5 separate regions of the Homo sapiens genome follow, and regions 2, 3, 4 and 5 are each linked to region 1. Evidence: promoter capture Hi-C in 16 types of primary human blood cells and fetal thymus (Javierre and others, 2016). All regions are on one chromosome and are shown on one strand. Each heading gives the region's core, a stretch centred on a gene start or on the middle of the fragment in contact. The rest is flanking DNA. Distances are from core to core; before and after follow the strand shown. Region 1 holds the start of SAMTOR (S-adenosylmethionine sensor upstream of mTORC1). Region 2 overlaps PNPLA8 (patatin like domain 8, phospholipase A2). Region 3 overlaps LOC124901722 (a long non-coding RNA gene). Region 4 has its middle 19 kb from the start of DNAJB9. Region 5 overlaps CAPZA2 (capping actin protein of muscle Z-line subunit alpha 2).

Region 1 (2,653 bases), core at 53-2,552:
GTCCTTGTCTTTGTGTTTGATCTGTCTCTTCACTGTGCTGTAGGGACACATCTTCCGCCTTTAAATTCCATCAATCTCCCTTCACCTCCCGCTTCTCCTGTGTCCTAGACAGTGTGTATAATTCTTTGCTCTTCAGCGTATTCAATATAAAGAAGGTAGCATATAAAACAGTTACATAATGCAAGCTTTATTCGTAGTTAGAAAATCATTATCAAAATGTTACCATTGCAATCATTTCCATAGACTGTCACGTAACCAACACCTGCAATGGGGAAGTGGTACACAATCCAACACAACTCATTAGGGGCTCTCAGTCTATTCAATCTCTGACACTCCAGCAGCCTCAGTACCACTTCAGGAGCCAATGCAGTCTACCTCTCTCCAGAGAGCAGTGTTCCACCTTTCTGGGACAGAAGTCAACAATCGCGTTCCCCAAGAGATGGAAAAGAAGTGGAGGAGGGTGAACAGGTTACCAAACCCACTTAGATACACTCCGCATAGACTAACTCTCCAAATTAAAGGACAGGAGGTCACCTGAGCTGACCATAAAAGCTCAGAGTGCTGATGCGAATAAGATCAGGGAAGGCTGCTTATTAACACCGTGGTCACTACAAAAGTTCTTGAGGGCATCTGCTGTGAGTTTTCCATCGTTCCTTATTGTCCTCCTGCATCTCCTGTTGCTTTTCTTGGCCCTCTCCTTTTCGCATTTTCTATGTCCTTTGCCCAGCAGTAGTACTGCAGGCATAAACCATTGTCGACCTGAGAATTAAATTAGCATTTGGTAGCCAGACCTCTCCTTGAGCCTTAGAATGCTTGTGTGCTTGAGGTCCCTGAAGTGTAACGTCATCTCAAAGCGCAAGTAACTAAAGGGAACCTACATGTGACAAGGTGCAGCGGAGGTTCAAGCAGAGCACCCTGGCCGCATCGCAACAGATTATAAAGTGTAGGGGATGAAAATGATGGAAGACATCAGAAAGCCGAGCTGTAAAAAAGCCCAAACTAAGCAAACTGAGACGCGCAAGCGCGTTGCTCACAGCTCGTCTCCCGAGGCCGAGCCACAGCGCCTGCGCACAGAATCCGGGGAGGGTGGGGAAGAGATGAGCACCCAGGCCTGGAGCTCCCACTGCCTCAGCCTCCCTATCCCCGCAAGCTCCGCCTCCTCCAGCTGCTCGCCTTCCCAAACAACCGGGTTCGCCGCCGGCGCTTTCTGCCCATTGGCCCTTAGCCTTTTCCGTTTCCGCCCAGCCCTCAAAATCCACCAATCAGTTTGCACTTTTGGGTGAGGGTCCACCTCCAAGGCTGTCGCTCCGGTTCCTCTGCCTCCTCTGGCTGCTGCCTCCGCAGCTCCCTCCTCCTACCCCACCTCCTCCATCTGGGGAGCGTCTGCGGGGGCCTGAGGGGCGGCGGCGGCGGCGGCGGCTGCGATATGGAGCCAGGGGCCGGCGGCCGAAATACTGCTCGTGCGCAGAGGGCCGGGTCCCCGAACACTCCGCCGCCCCGGGAGCAGGAGCGGAAACTGGAGCAGGAGAAGCTCTCCGGTGTGGTGAAGAGCGTCCACCGGCGGCTCCGCAAGAAGTACCGAGAAGGTAAACAGCGCGCTGAGTGAGGGAGGAAGGGGAGGCCTCATCACCCCCAACCGCTTGTCACCTCTTCCCTCCTCCAAAGAGGCCACCATTAAAATGTAAAGGATCTGCACGTCCCCCCAGCCGCTGCTGCTCTCCCGGGCCTGGTCTGAGCCCCCTAGTCGGCATCAGACGCGCTCCTCCCCGCCCCCTTTTCTTTGAGGGCCCTTCGGGAGAGTTCTAGGCCTGTAAAGGAATTGAGTCCCCACCCCCTCCAAGCCCCTGTCCCCAGCCGGGGTGCTGAGGTTGTTGTCTCGGCACACACAAACACATACACGCTCACAGAGGAGGTGGGGGTCGCTTTTTGCAAGAGACGCCGAGGTAAAACAAGACAGGTAAAATCCATTTGTAAAAGACGAAAAGAAACCTGAGTTGTCCCTCCTTTACGCTTGACCTACCGGCTGTACCATTTGCTTCCTTATCAGACCCCCTTCCTAGTACTTCATTCCTACAACCATGCCGAGCCTTCCTCGCATTGGCTTCCAGGGCTGGGAAGCCAGCAGGCCTTTTAGCTGACTGGACTTCACATTGTTAAAAGGGGGCGGGCTACACTCGTGGCCCCCACTCCCATTTCTTAAATACTTGGTCTTAACTGTTTATTTAGGCGATGAGGAAGAGATCTGGGCAGGTTCTGAAAATACCGTTTGTATTGGAAGCCTCCTAAAGACACCTGCCGATAAAGCCCACCCTCGGCTTCCATGGATGGGGTTCCGGTGAGAACCCCCTCTGTGGAAGCTCATAGGGGAAGAAGCCTTAGTGGCTTTTGCCTGTGCCTGAAGAGTGTTTATAGTTGGAGTCTACAGTTATCCTTGATATCTTTAAATATAGGCTTTTGTACACAGCTGTTTTATAAGATTTTGACAGTGAAAATTCTGTTTTCATAGGCTTGGGAGAGAGACTTCTCCTGAGTATCGAAATGAGGAAAGCTTTCCACTGGTTCTCATTTTAGCTTAATTGCAAACTGAAAAGTCAGCAGCCTTCTGGTGTTAGTCCTATACTTAGTTAATAATTTAGGATTAGAAGGAAAATTA
Region 2 (2,653 bases), core at 58-2,557, 4.4 Mb after region 1:
CCAGGCTCAGAATCTGTACATACGGTGGACAAGCCTACAAGTCCTTCTGCGATACCTGATGTTCTTCAAGTTTCAACTAAACAAAGTATTGCTAACTTTCTTTCTCGTCCCACGGAAGGTGTACAAGCTTTAGTAGGTGGTTATATTGGTGGACTTGTCCCCAAATTAAAGTATGATTCAAAGAGTCAGTCAGAAGAACAGGAAGAGCCTGCTAAAACTGATCAGGCTGTCAGCAAAGACAGAAATGCAGAGGAGAAAAAGCGTTTATCTCTTCAGCGAGAAAAGGCAAGTTGTTCAGTGTGCTTTTCGGTTCTATTACTTTTTGTCAAATTTATAAGTTTTATTTCCTAATGAGAACTAAGAAACTTTCATTGTTCTTTAGAGCAGTTTTGTATTCTAATCATATCTATTTAATATGTCTTTGTAGATTATCGCAAGGGTGAGTATTGATAACAGGACCCGGGCATTAGTTCAGGCATTAAGAAGAACAACTGACCCAAAGCTCTGCATTACTAGGGTTGAAGAACTGACTTTTCATCTTCTAGAATTTCCTGAAGGAAAAGGAGTGGCTGTCAAGGTAATTTCTAATTTATTTAATCTAGTTTTGTCTTGGAATAGAAGTACTAAAAAAAATCTAAAATGGAGAAGGCAAAGCCTTTCATTTTTCCATTTGAATTTTGTGGTTTTTATTATACATGTGATGTGTATTCAGTAATTACCCTATTTATTTTGTGACATACATTATGCTAATCAATTCATTTTATTTTGTTAGCACCAATATGTATACTTTGAAATTAAACATTTATAAAATAGAAAATAATCAGTTTATTAGTTGAATTGCCTAACAGCTGCCAGATTTTTCTTTAGTGCAATGTAAATATTTATACTATGTAACTGTTCTTTTAAGATAGGAGACATAATTCATATGTGAGGCTGTTGTTTTTATTTCATGGTCCTTTCGTATTTGAAAGTCTAAAAATTTGAATGACCTTACTCATAATTGAATTAGTAATCATATTAAGTAAAACAATGAGCTTTTCTTTGCCTCAGTTTTTTCAACTATAAAATAATGAAGATAATTTAGACCCACTTAAATGGACTGTTTTCAGAGAAGTGCTATAAAATATGACTAATGTGATTGAGTCTCTTTACATCTATATTATTAAGATTATTTGTAATATTTAATGAAAAATTTGAAAATATCATAATGATAGATACTGCTTACATTTCATTAGAAATCTATTAGTGCTTATTTTTAGCTTGGCATTCAGAAAATTGTTTTAACTTAGAACACATTTATTCTACTTTTTAACAATTACCTTGTTGAAAAATTGTCTTTGAATAATGTACCCATCCTTACTTGTGTATTGTATAACACATACATTATTATAGGTAGCTTCACTATTTTATGGTCCTATAATTTGGGATTATATTTTATATTTATATAATCTTACATAAAAGATAAGATTCTCAAATATACATATGCTTTTAAGTATATTTCACATTTCAGTGATATACTGAAAGCAAAGATCTTAAATAGAATTACATACTGGCTTAGTCCATTTGGGCTGTCATAATAAAATACCTTAGCTTGGGTAATTTATAAACAACAGAAATTTATTTCTCATAGTTCTGGAGGCTGGGCAGTCCAAAATCAAGGCACCAACAATTTGATGTCTGGTGAGAGTCCCGTTCCTCCTAGACAGCAGCTTCTCATGACCTACTTAGATGGCAGAAGGGGCAAGGTGGCTCACTTCAACCTCTTTTACAAGGCCAGTTGTACTACTGATGGATTTCTGAGTAGTTTTCAGTTGCAGTTTAAATAGTCTTGCTAATTGAAACTCTGAGGACTCTTTTATCTTGCATAACTAATCCCAAATCTAAGGACCTTTCAATACTATGAAAAAATGTAATATAGGAATATATATTCAGATCAATTATGAATAAAAATCTAGGTAGTCTGAAAAAAGTTGTCACCCTTCCCTTAAATAATCATCTGAAAAACAGTGAACTGGACAAATTGCATATAACGTGTCAGCATGTACACTCTAGTGTGAACTTTTCCAGCTAAACTTTTTGTTATTATCAAGAGTTGAGCTTTTTAAAAATGATAGAATTTTTATAAAACATCTGTATCAATTTTACTTTTTTATGTGTCTACCATATTTAAGGTAGCTAAATACAGGGAATTATGTCTGATACGTAATGCCCTAAAAAAAAATGAGTTACTTATTTTGTATGCTACATTTATGGCAGCCACATTTAGGGAATTGTCTGTGATAATTTTTTCACTGTGATGAAGGTGGTCTCCTTTCATTATGTTTTTTAATTAAAAAGAAGAACTTTGACTGTTTAGAAAGAAGGCAGCACAAAGCATTGTAGGGAATTAGAAGAAAGAAAAGATAAGAAAATAAAAATAATATATTTTACCCTCAGATTACCACTGTAATGTATTAGAGTTTATTTGTGTTCATTGGATTAAGCTTCCTTAAGCTCTAATAGCAAACAACACCGAAATCTCAGTGACTTAACAAAACAGTTTTATTTCTGGCTCATGCAAAGTTAACTGTGGGTTTGGGTGACTCTTTGGCACAGTGAACCTCCGTGTGGTGGTTACTTAGATCCTGTCCTGTTGTCTGTATTTTAATTGAGT
Region 3 (2,653 bases), core at 79-2,578, 4.4 Mb after region 1:
ACCTGGGAGGCAGAGGTTGCAGTGAGCCAAGATCACACCACAGCACTTCAGCCTGGGCAACAGAGCGAAACTCCATCTCAAATAAAAAAGTAAAAGAGGCCGGGTGTGGTAGCCCACACCTGTAATCCTAGCACTTTGGGAGGCAGAGGCGGGCAGATCACCTGAGGTCAGGAGTTCAAGACCAGCCTGGCCAACATGGTGAAACCCCGTCTCTACTAAAAATACAAAAATTAGCTGGGCGTGGTGGCAAGCACCTGTAATCCCAGCTACTTGGGAGGCTGAGGCAGGAGAATTGCTTGAACCTGGGAGGTGGAGGTTGCAGTGAGCCGAGATCGCGCCACTGCACTCCAGCCTGGGCGGCAGAGTGAGACTCTGACTCAAAAAAAAAAAAAAAGTAAAAGAAAGAAAGAAAAGAAATTAACATGCAATTGAATATGGGGGCATTTTTAGACTTATTCCAACTTTTCAACTGGATGAGTTGTCATAGAAATAAGCAAGGCATGGAATAACCTACAAAAGTATTAGGTAAAAGGTAAAATCTAACTCAGATTCAAAAGTAAGTTGGAGAAAATACAATTATGTGTCCTTAATATCTTAATTTTATGTTGCTACTCTTGTGCCAAAACCTTAGCTATAACCTGTCTATTAATAAAACTATTCTTTCTTCACCCAGAAAATCACCTTATATATAACTGGTTTATTTCCCACTGGTTTAGTTCCTCTAAGATGTCCCAGCAGGAAGCTGGATAAACTGGTCTCAAGCCTGATAGAGAGGCCTGAACTGCAGGTATAAATAGGCAAATTCTTTAAGGCAGTTTTTAAGGTGGAGAAAGAATGATTTTTTTATTAAAAGGTTAAATAGGAAAACAGTAAATATGACAACAACAGGACTCCTCATCTTCTTCAAATCTTGCCCTCTCATGGTACCAAAAAAATGTACTTAAAACTTAAATTCCACCATGTTATTCTTTTGTCTTAGAATCTGACAGTGGTTCTGATCACCCAGAAGATCAGGTCCAAGTTCTTCAGCTCTCACCCAATCCTTATATTACATTTCCAGTACAAACATGGAACACATAGTTCCCTTCATGCACTATGTTTTTTCCTGCCTTATTGCCTTTTATTACAAACATCACTTCTCTCTGTAAAGCTCTCTCCTTTCTCTTCCCACTTTTACCACTCCACTACTGCCATCTGTCTTGCTAGCAACATCTTTTAAGACTTGGTTCAGAAGTTCCTTCCCAACACCACAGGCTGGGGTAGGTATTCCTGCTCTAGACTCATAATATCCAGTTCATGTCTCCATTAGTGCTCTTTCTACATTAATAGTATTATTACCTAAGGTTATATTTTGAGTTCCGTGACAGTGCTTCAATTTTTTACCTCCAGCAAATAGCTTGGTGCCAGGCACATAGTAAGCACTCAGTAGATAATGGCTGAATGAATAAATTCAATTCTTTCAATATGCACTCACCAAATAGTTACTGAACAATTAACTTTTTTTTTTTTCTTTTTCAAACGGAGCCTCACCCTGTTACCCAGGCTGGAGTGCATTGGCGCGATCTCGGCTCACTGCAACCTCCTCCTCCCGGGTTCAAACCATTCTCCTGCCTCAGCCTCCTGAGTAGCTGGGATTATAGGTGCCCGCCACCACGCCCAGCTAATTTTTGTATTTTTAGCAGAGATGGGGTTTCACCATGTTGGCCAGACTGGTCTCCAACGCCTGACCTCAGGTGATCCACCCGCCTCTGCCTCCCACAGTGCTGGGATTACAGGCATGAGCCAACGCTCCGGGCCACACTTTATTAATAATTGCTGTGCCTTGGTGCTAAGGATCAAAACAGAAAATCCTTGCTTTCATGTTTTCAAACTATATAAAGATAATTATATTAATTTCCTATTGCTGCTGAAACAAAACACTTCAAATTTAGTGGCTTAAAACAACTCAAGTTTATTATGTCACAGTTCTGTAGGTCAGAAGTCCAGCAAGAGTTGACTGGTTCCTCTGTTCCAGGTCTCATAAGGGTGAAATCAAGGTGTCAGCTTACCTGAGCTTTTGTCTGGTACCTCTGGGGAAGAGTGTGCTTTCAGTTTTATTTAGGTTGTTGACAGAATTCAACTCCTTGCGGCTGTGTGGCTGAGGTCTCCATTTCCTTGCTGGCTGTCAGTCAGGAGCCGCTCTTGGTTCCCTATGGCAACCTGCATTCCTTGTCAAATTGTTCCTCTCATTATCTTGATCTCTCTGACTTTCGCTTTGCCACATCTGTACTGATTTTAAGGATTTATGTGATTAGATTGGGCCCACAGAGATAATCCAGGATTATTTTCCTTTCTTAAAATCTGTACCCTTAATTACATCTGCAAAAAGTCCCCTTTGCCATGTAAAGTAGCATATTCACAGGTTCTAAGGATTTGGGCATGGGCATTTTTTAGAAGGCCATTCTTCAGCCTACCATGGTGATTATTCTTCTAGAATTATTTTCTGGCATATCCCTCCCTTAGGTGATCTGGAGAGATATCTTGCACCAATATGGCTTAATTTATTTTGGTTATAATGTTAAGTTTTATTTGAACAATAAAGATATTAGCAGCTCTTTTAAAAAGCTATGAACCAGACCAGAAAGGAGTGACTATGGATGTAGAAGAGCTAAAA
Region 4 (2,653 bases), core at 89-2,588, 4.4 Mb after region 1:
ATCAGACACCCTGCGTTCTTCCAACCTCAGGGGTTTTTTCTCTCCTCCTGGGCAGCAGTTTCTATCTTGTGATCTAAACATTAGCTTCCCTTGTGCTTCTATCTTTCTCCTTCCTTCTCTGGGGGAACTCAGTGTAACTCCTTGTTGCCCTTGACACTTGATAAAATGTCCATGTGAGTGGCAAGTGCTAGAATTCAATTCAAATTGGCTTAAGTGAAAAGGAGACTTTTTTGTCTCATATAACTGAAGTGTTCAAGGAAAGATGGTTTCAGGCACAGCTGGACCTAGGGCTAAATGGCTCTGAAATCCTCTATGAAGCTCTTTTCAGGTCCCATAAAGTAGCCATTGGTGATATCAGGTTCACATCAGTCTTTTCTGTTAGCAGTCCCAGCTGAAACATACTTTATAGATTGTCAAACATGAATTCATAGAGATTTCTTTTGACCTCCTATATGACCAATTTGAAAATATTCTAGAAGTGGAGGAAAAGACAGAATTGTTTTGTTTGTAACTAACAAATAGGGGAAATTTTCAGTATACCATTTATTATGGCTTGAAAATGAAATTTCAATTGCATGTCACTGTGCCAATACAAGCAGCTCAGAGGAATTGAGACAGGGAGGAGTTGCTCTTTTAAAGGTCCTCAGCTGGGCATGATGGCTCATGCCTGTAATCCCAGCACTCTGGGAGGTGGAGATGCAAGGGTTACTTGAGGCCAGGAATTCAAGACCAGCCTGGGCAACATAGTGAGACTCTGTCTCTACAAAAAAAAAAAAAAAAAGAACATAAAAATTAAAAAATTAGCCAAGTGTGGTGGCATATGCCTTGCAGTCCAGGCTGAGGCTGGAGGATGGCTTGAACCCAGGAGTTCAAGATTGCAGTGAGCTATGATCGTGATCATGCCACTGCCTGGCTGACCCTGTCTCTTAAAAAAAAAAAAAAGATAAATAAAAGTCCTTAAAAAATAAACTCACACAGAAGATGTCTACATAAAAAGAGTTCACACTTGATTTTAACTTTCTAACAAGGTAAAAGTCTTCTTTCTTTTAAGTTCCCCTCTGATCTCATAACTGAGGGGATGTGACCTAGTTTTCTAAGTATCTCAAGATCCACCAGTATTGATATATAAACTGATTTTGTTTCCTTCCAATAATAATTCCTTATAAGATAGTATCTCTGACAGTTTGGACAATGGCATTTGAACAGAAAATTATTTTCTCACACTAAAATATCTGGAAGAAAAATAATGATAGAAAAGTTATAGAAAAAGAGATGTTATCATTTGGGATTAAAAAAACATATTGTGAGGTGGGCACGGTGGCTCACGCCTGTAATCCCAGCACTTTGGGAGGCCAAGGCGGGTGGATCACCTGAGGCCAGGAGTTCGAGACCAGCCTGGCCAACATGGTGAAACCCTGTCTCTACTAAAAACACAAAAATTACCCAGGTGTGGTGGTGCACACCTGTAATCCCAGCTACTCAGGAGGCTGAGGCGGGAGAATCACTTGAACCCAGGAGGTGGAGGTTGCAGTGAGCCAAGATCACATCATTGCATTCCAGCCTGGGCTATAGTGCGAGACTCCATCTCAAAAAAAAAAAAAAAAAAAAATTTAAAAAAAAATTTAAAAAAAATTTGTGGATGACTAAACCTGTATCCCAATATCTTTATTAACAGATATCATTTATTTGGTATAAGGAAGATGTCCCAATGCAGATGAGTCTAGTTTATCATATAAGTAAAGGATTTTGTAACTTTTCAGAAAATCAAATTATGAGATATACACATATGACGTCGAATTTACTTATTCACTAAATAGTTATGGAAAATTTACCCTATACCAGTCACAGATATAGGCACTTGAGACACAGCAGTGGAAGATCCCTACCTCCAAGTAGCTTATATTCTATCAGGAGGAAACAGATAATAACATAATAAGTAATGAAATAAGGTGATAAGTGCTGTGTGAAAATAAAAACAGAGTAAGATAAAGGGATGGAGAGTGTGAGGGAGGAGGGACACAGTGTGGTATTAAATAGGGTGGCCAGAAAGGCCCCATTGAAGAGGTGACAGGTGAGCCAAGACTGGAAGAAGCTGAAGGGATTGGCTGTATAATCAAGAATGCTCCAAACAGAGGAACCAGCTAGTGCAAAGGCCCTAAAGAGAAAGCAAGCCTGGCGTGTTCCTGGAAGAGTGAGGATTCCTGTCTGGCTAGTACAGAATGAAGAAGGGTGTGATGGTTAATATTGAGTGTCAACTTGACTGGATTAAAGGATGCAAAGTATTGTTCCTGGATGTTCTGTGAGGGTGTTGCCAAAGGAGATTAACATTTGAGTCAGTGGACTGGGAGAGGCAGACCCATCCTCAATCTGGGTGGGCACCATCTAATCAGCTGCCAGTGCAGCTAGAATAAAGCAGGCAGGAGAAGACAGAAGAGTAGACTTGCTGAGTCTTCTGGCCTTCATCTTTCTCCTGTGCTGGATGCTTCCTGCCCTGGAACATAAGACTCCAAGTTCTTGAGCTTTAAGAGTCTTGGACTTATACCAGTGGTTTGCCAGGGGTTCTCGAGCCTTTGGCCACAGATTGATCCACCACTGGCTTCCTTGCTCCTCACCTTGCAGACAGACTATCATGGGACTTCACCTTGTGATCATG
Region 5 (2,653 bases), core at 76-2,575, 3.9 Mb before region 1:
TGAATAGCAGATAAAAATCTGACCAGTAATCAGGAAAGAAGTTAGTGCTACAGCTATGTACCTGGGAGACAACTGCAAAGACCTAAAAGTTGAAGCTATGGGACAGATTATTGTAATCACTGAGGTAAAGGGTTACAGGAAGAAAAACGATCTTTCCCATCAGTAACTAAGTGTATTCCTTCTGGAACTTGAATCTCTTATCCAGAGAGAGGTTTCGGAATGGGTCTTTTCAATTGAGCCTTACACCATAATTTCATACAATTTCAAATTCACAAAAATGCTTTACTGTACAATACAGCTGACCCAGGAATGAAAATGAACTGTTTTTGGCCTAGGGTTTCTGTAACTATGTAAAAAAGTCTATGGGAGGCCGGGCACGGTGGCTCACGCCTGTAATCCCAGCACTTTGGGAGGCCGAGGCGGGTGGATCACGAGGTCAGGAGATTGAGACCATCCTGGCTAACACGGTGAAACCCCGTCTCTACTAAAAATACAAAAAATTAGCCGGGCGCGGTGGCAGGCGCCTGTAGTCCCAGCTACTCGGGAGGCTGAGGCAGGAGAATGGCGTGAACCCAGGAGGCGGAGCTTGCAGTGAGCCGAGATACCGCCTGGGTGAAAGAGCGAGACTCCGTCTCAAAAAAAAAAAAAAAAAGTCTATGGGACACACTATAGCAAGTTAAGAGCTTTAAAGAACTTCATTGTGTTCTTCAGCTAAATTTATTTCCCATTCACCCAGTGGCCAAAGGAGAAAAGGTTATTAAACTTCATAGTAGTATCCTCAAAAAGCAATTGTGTATGATTTTAAAAAACAAAACTATTATTCTAGATTGATTTCTAAAATGCTTCCTATCAGTAACATAACACCTTTAAATGTGTTAATAATAAGCTTTATTCTAAAATCATCAAGACAAAAATTTAGAACCTAACACTATTTGCTTGGTATTACTTTTTAAAAAAGGGCTAGGAATCATGGCTCATGCCCGTAATCCCAGCACTTTAGGATGCCCAAGTGGGAGGATCGTTTGAGCCAGGAGTGTGAGACCACCCTGGACAACATCGTGAGACCTTGTCTCTACAAAAAATTTTTTTAAATTTGCTGGGTGTCCTGGCACACCTGCCTGTACTCCCAGCTACTTGGGGAGACTGAGGTGAGAGGACTGCTTGAGCCCAGGAAGTTGAGGCTGCAGTGAGCCATGATCACCACTGCACTCCAGCCTGGGTGGACAGAGTGAGACCCTGTCTAAGGAAGAATCAACGTTTCTCCTTTTTCAAAATAAGCTGTCAACAAATTAAAAATGAAGAGACAAAACCAGAAGAGGTTCTTATCAATTTTGTTTAAGAAAGCATAATGTCTGCTGGGCATGGTGGCTCACGCCTGTAATCCCAGCACTTTGGGAGGCCGAGGGGGGTGGATCACCTGAGGTCAGGAGTTCAAGACCAGCCTGGGCAACATAGCGAAACCCCGTCTCTACTAAAAATACAAAAATTAGCTGGGCATGGTGGCATGTGCCAGTTATCCCAGCTACTCGGGAGGCTGAGGCAGAAGAATCGCTTCAGCCCCGGAGGCAGAGGTTGCAGTGAGCCAAGATTGCACCACTGCACTCCAGCCTGCGTGACAGAGTGGGACTCTGTATCAAAAAAAAAAAAAAAAAAAAAAAAAAGAAGAGAGCGCATAATGTCACAAGAACATCAACGTTGGACTAAGACAAACTTTAAATACTACCTTCATCTTGACCGTCCTTGGGTGAACTACTTAAAGCTTTTGAACCTCACTCTACTCATCTGTGAAATGGTAATAGAACTACCTCTTACAACAACAAATTAAGTAATGAATGTATCTAACTGAGCCAAGCATATATAAAGTATGGTACTAGACACATCTTAACAGCTTCTCTTCCTTAAATTTGCAATCTAGAATGGAAATTTCAAAAACTTAAAAGTATTCAAAACTTAATATTTTTTTTTAGAGATGAGGTCTCGCTATGTTACCAGGCTGGTCTACAACTCCTGGGCTCAAGCGATCCTCCACACCTTGGCATCCAGAGTAGTTGGCATTACAGGTGCAAACCACCGTGCCCAGCTTAAGAGCTTATTTTTGAAAATTACCAATAAGGCAGTAGAACGAGTAATATTAAAATATCACTTTTAAGTCCTCTCTGTTTTCTGATCCCATACTGGACACATCCTCCTCCCCCAAAATGAAAATAACCTTTAGATATCTCAAGTGACAAGAACGTTAAAATTTCACTTTACTGGTTACTTGAATTTAACCTAAAGGTTTTGTCAGTTTTTAAATTAGTAAATATAGTGATAAAATTTATATGTAAAATATCTACATAATATTCTTACAAAACATCAAAAATCAAATTAGAATTTTCATTCATTTAACCATAAAACATTTTGCTACTAGGCGGCACAGGCTTTAAGACACACAACCTCCTCATTCCTCTTTATGAAGCTTAGTGCCCTGAGAGTGCCAGATAATAAGGCATCTTGTTATCTCATTTTTAAAAAACTTTTTTATTTTAGGCCTTTACAACACATGGCAGGTCTATATTAACTCCCACACCGAGTAGTCTCTCTTCAGCTAGATTTCTAGCCACTTGAGCTACTAATCATCACTTAAGAATGGTAGAATAAAAACACGACAATC

The links. The method cuts DNA at HindIII sites, captures the fragments that hold promoters and counts their contacts. A CHiCAGO score of 5 or more calls a contact.
Region 2: a fragment that was not itself captured here is called in contact with the fragment with the promoter of SAMTOR in region 1 in 6 of 17 cell types (total CD4 T cells, naive CD8 T cells, non-activated CD4 T cells and 3 more); the score reaches 17.9 in total CD4 T cells.
Region 3: a fragment that was not itself captured here is called in contact with the fragment with the promoter of SAMTOR in region 1 in 7 of 17 cell types (total CD4 T cells, non-activated CD4 T cells, naive CD4 T cells and 4 more); the score reaches 24.5 in total CD4 T cells.
Region 4: a fragment that was not itself captured here is called in contact with the fragment with the promoter of SAMTOR in region 1 in 1 of 17 cell types (total CD4 T cells); the score reaches 8.4 in total CD4 T cells.
Region 5: a fragment that was not itself captured here is called in contact with the fragment with the promoter of SAMTOR in region 1 in 1 of 17 cell types (activated CD4 T cells); the score reaches 5.9 in activated CD4 T cells.

The regions. Positions count from the first base shown.
Region 1 is chr7:112,938,524-112,941,176 of GRCh38, reverse strand. It overlaps SAMTOR (S-adenosylmethionine sensor upstream of mTORC1), which reads left to right and starts at 1,302. Exons shown (of 5, transcript NM_152556.3): 1 at 1,302-1,586. The coding sequence starts at 1,427. RefSeq lists enhancers at 834-1,173, 828-1,344 and a silencer at 1,374-1,473. The HindIII fragment of the contact is 2,363 bases long and covers 188-2,550 here.
Region 2 is chr7:108,512,068-108,514,720 of GRCh38, reverse strand. It overlaps PNPLA8 (patatin like domain 8, phospholipase A2), which reads left to right. Exons shown (of 11, transcript NM_001256007.3): 3 at 1-285; 4 at 428-577. Among named protein-coding and RNA genes, the nearest start is that of PNPLA8, 13 kb to the left of the region's middle. The HindIII fragment of the contact is 2,356 bases long and covers 130-2,485 here.
Region 3 is chr7:108,529,061-108,531,713 of GRCh38, reverse strand. It overlaps LOC124901722 (a long non-coding RNA gene), which reads right to left. Exons shown (of 2, transcript XR_007060473.1): 2 at 1,932-2,263. Among named protein-coding and RNA genes, the nearest start is that of PNPLA8, 4.3 kb to the right of the region's middle. The HindIII fragment of the contact is 4,198 bases long and covers 1-2,653 here.
Region 4 is chr7:108,587,400-108,590,052 of GRCh38, reverse strand. No RefSeq gene overlaps it. Among named protein-coding and RNA genes, the nearest start is that of DNAJB9, 19 kb to the right of the region's middle. The HindIII fragment of the contact is 6,518 bases long and covers 1-2,653 here.
Region 5 is chr7:116,864,186-116,866,838 of GRCh38, reverse strand. All of the region lies in intron 1 of CAPZA2 (capping actin protein of muscle Z-line subunit alpha 2), which reads right to left. Among named protein-coding and RNA genes, the nearest start is that of CAPZA2, 2.9 kb to the right of the region's middle. The HindIII fragment of the contact is 873 bases long and covers 889-1,761 here.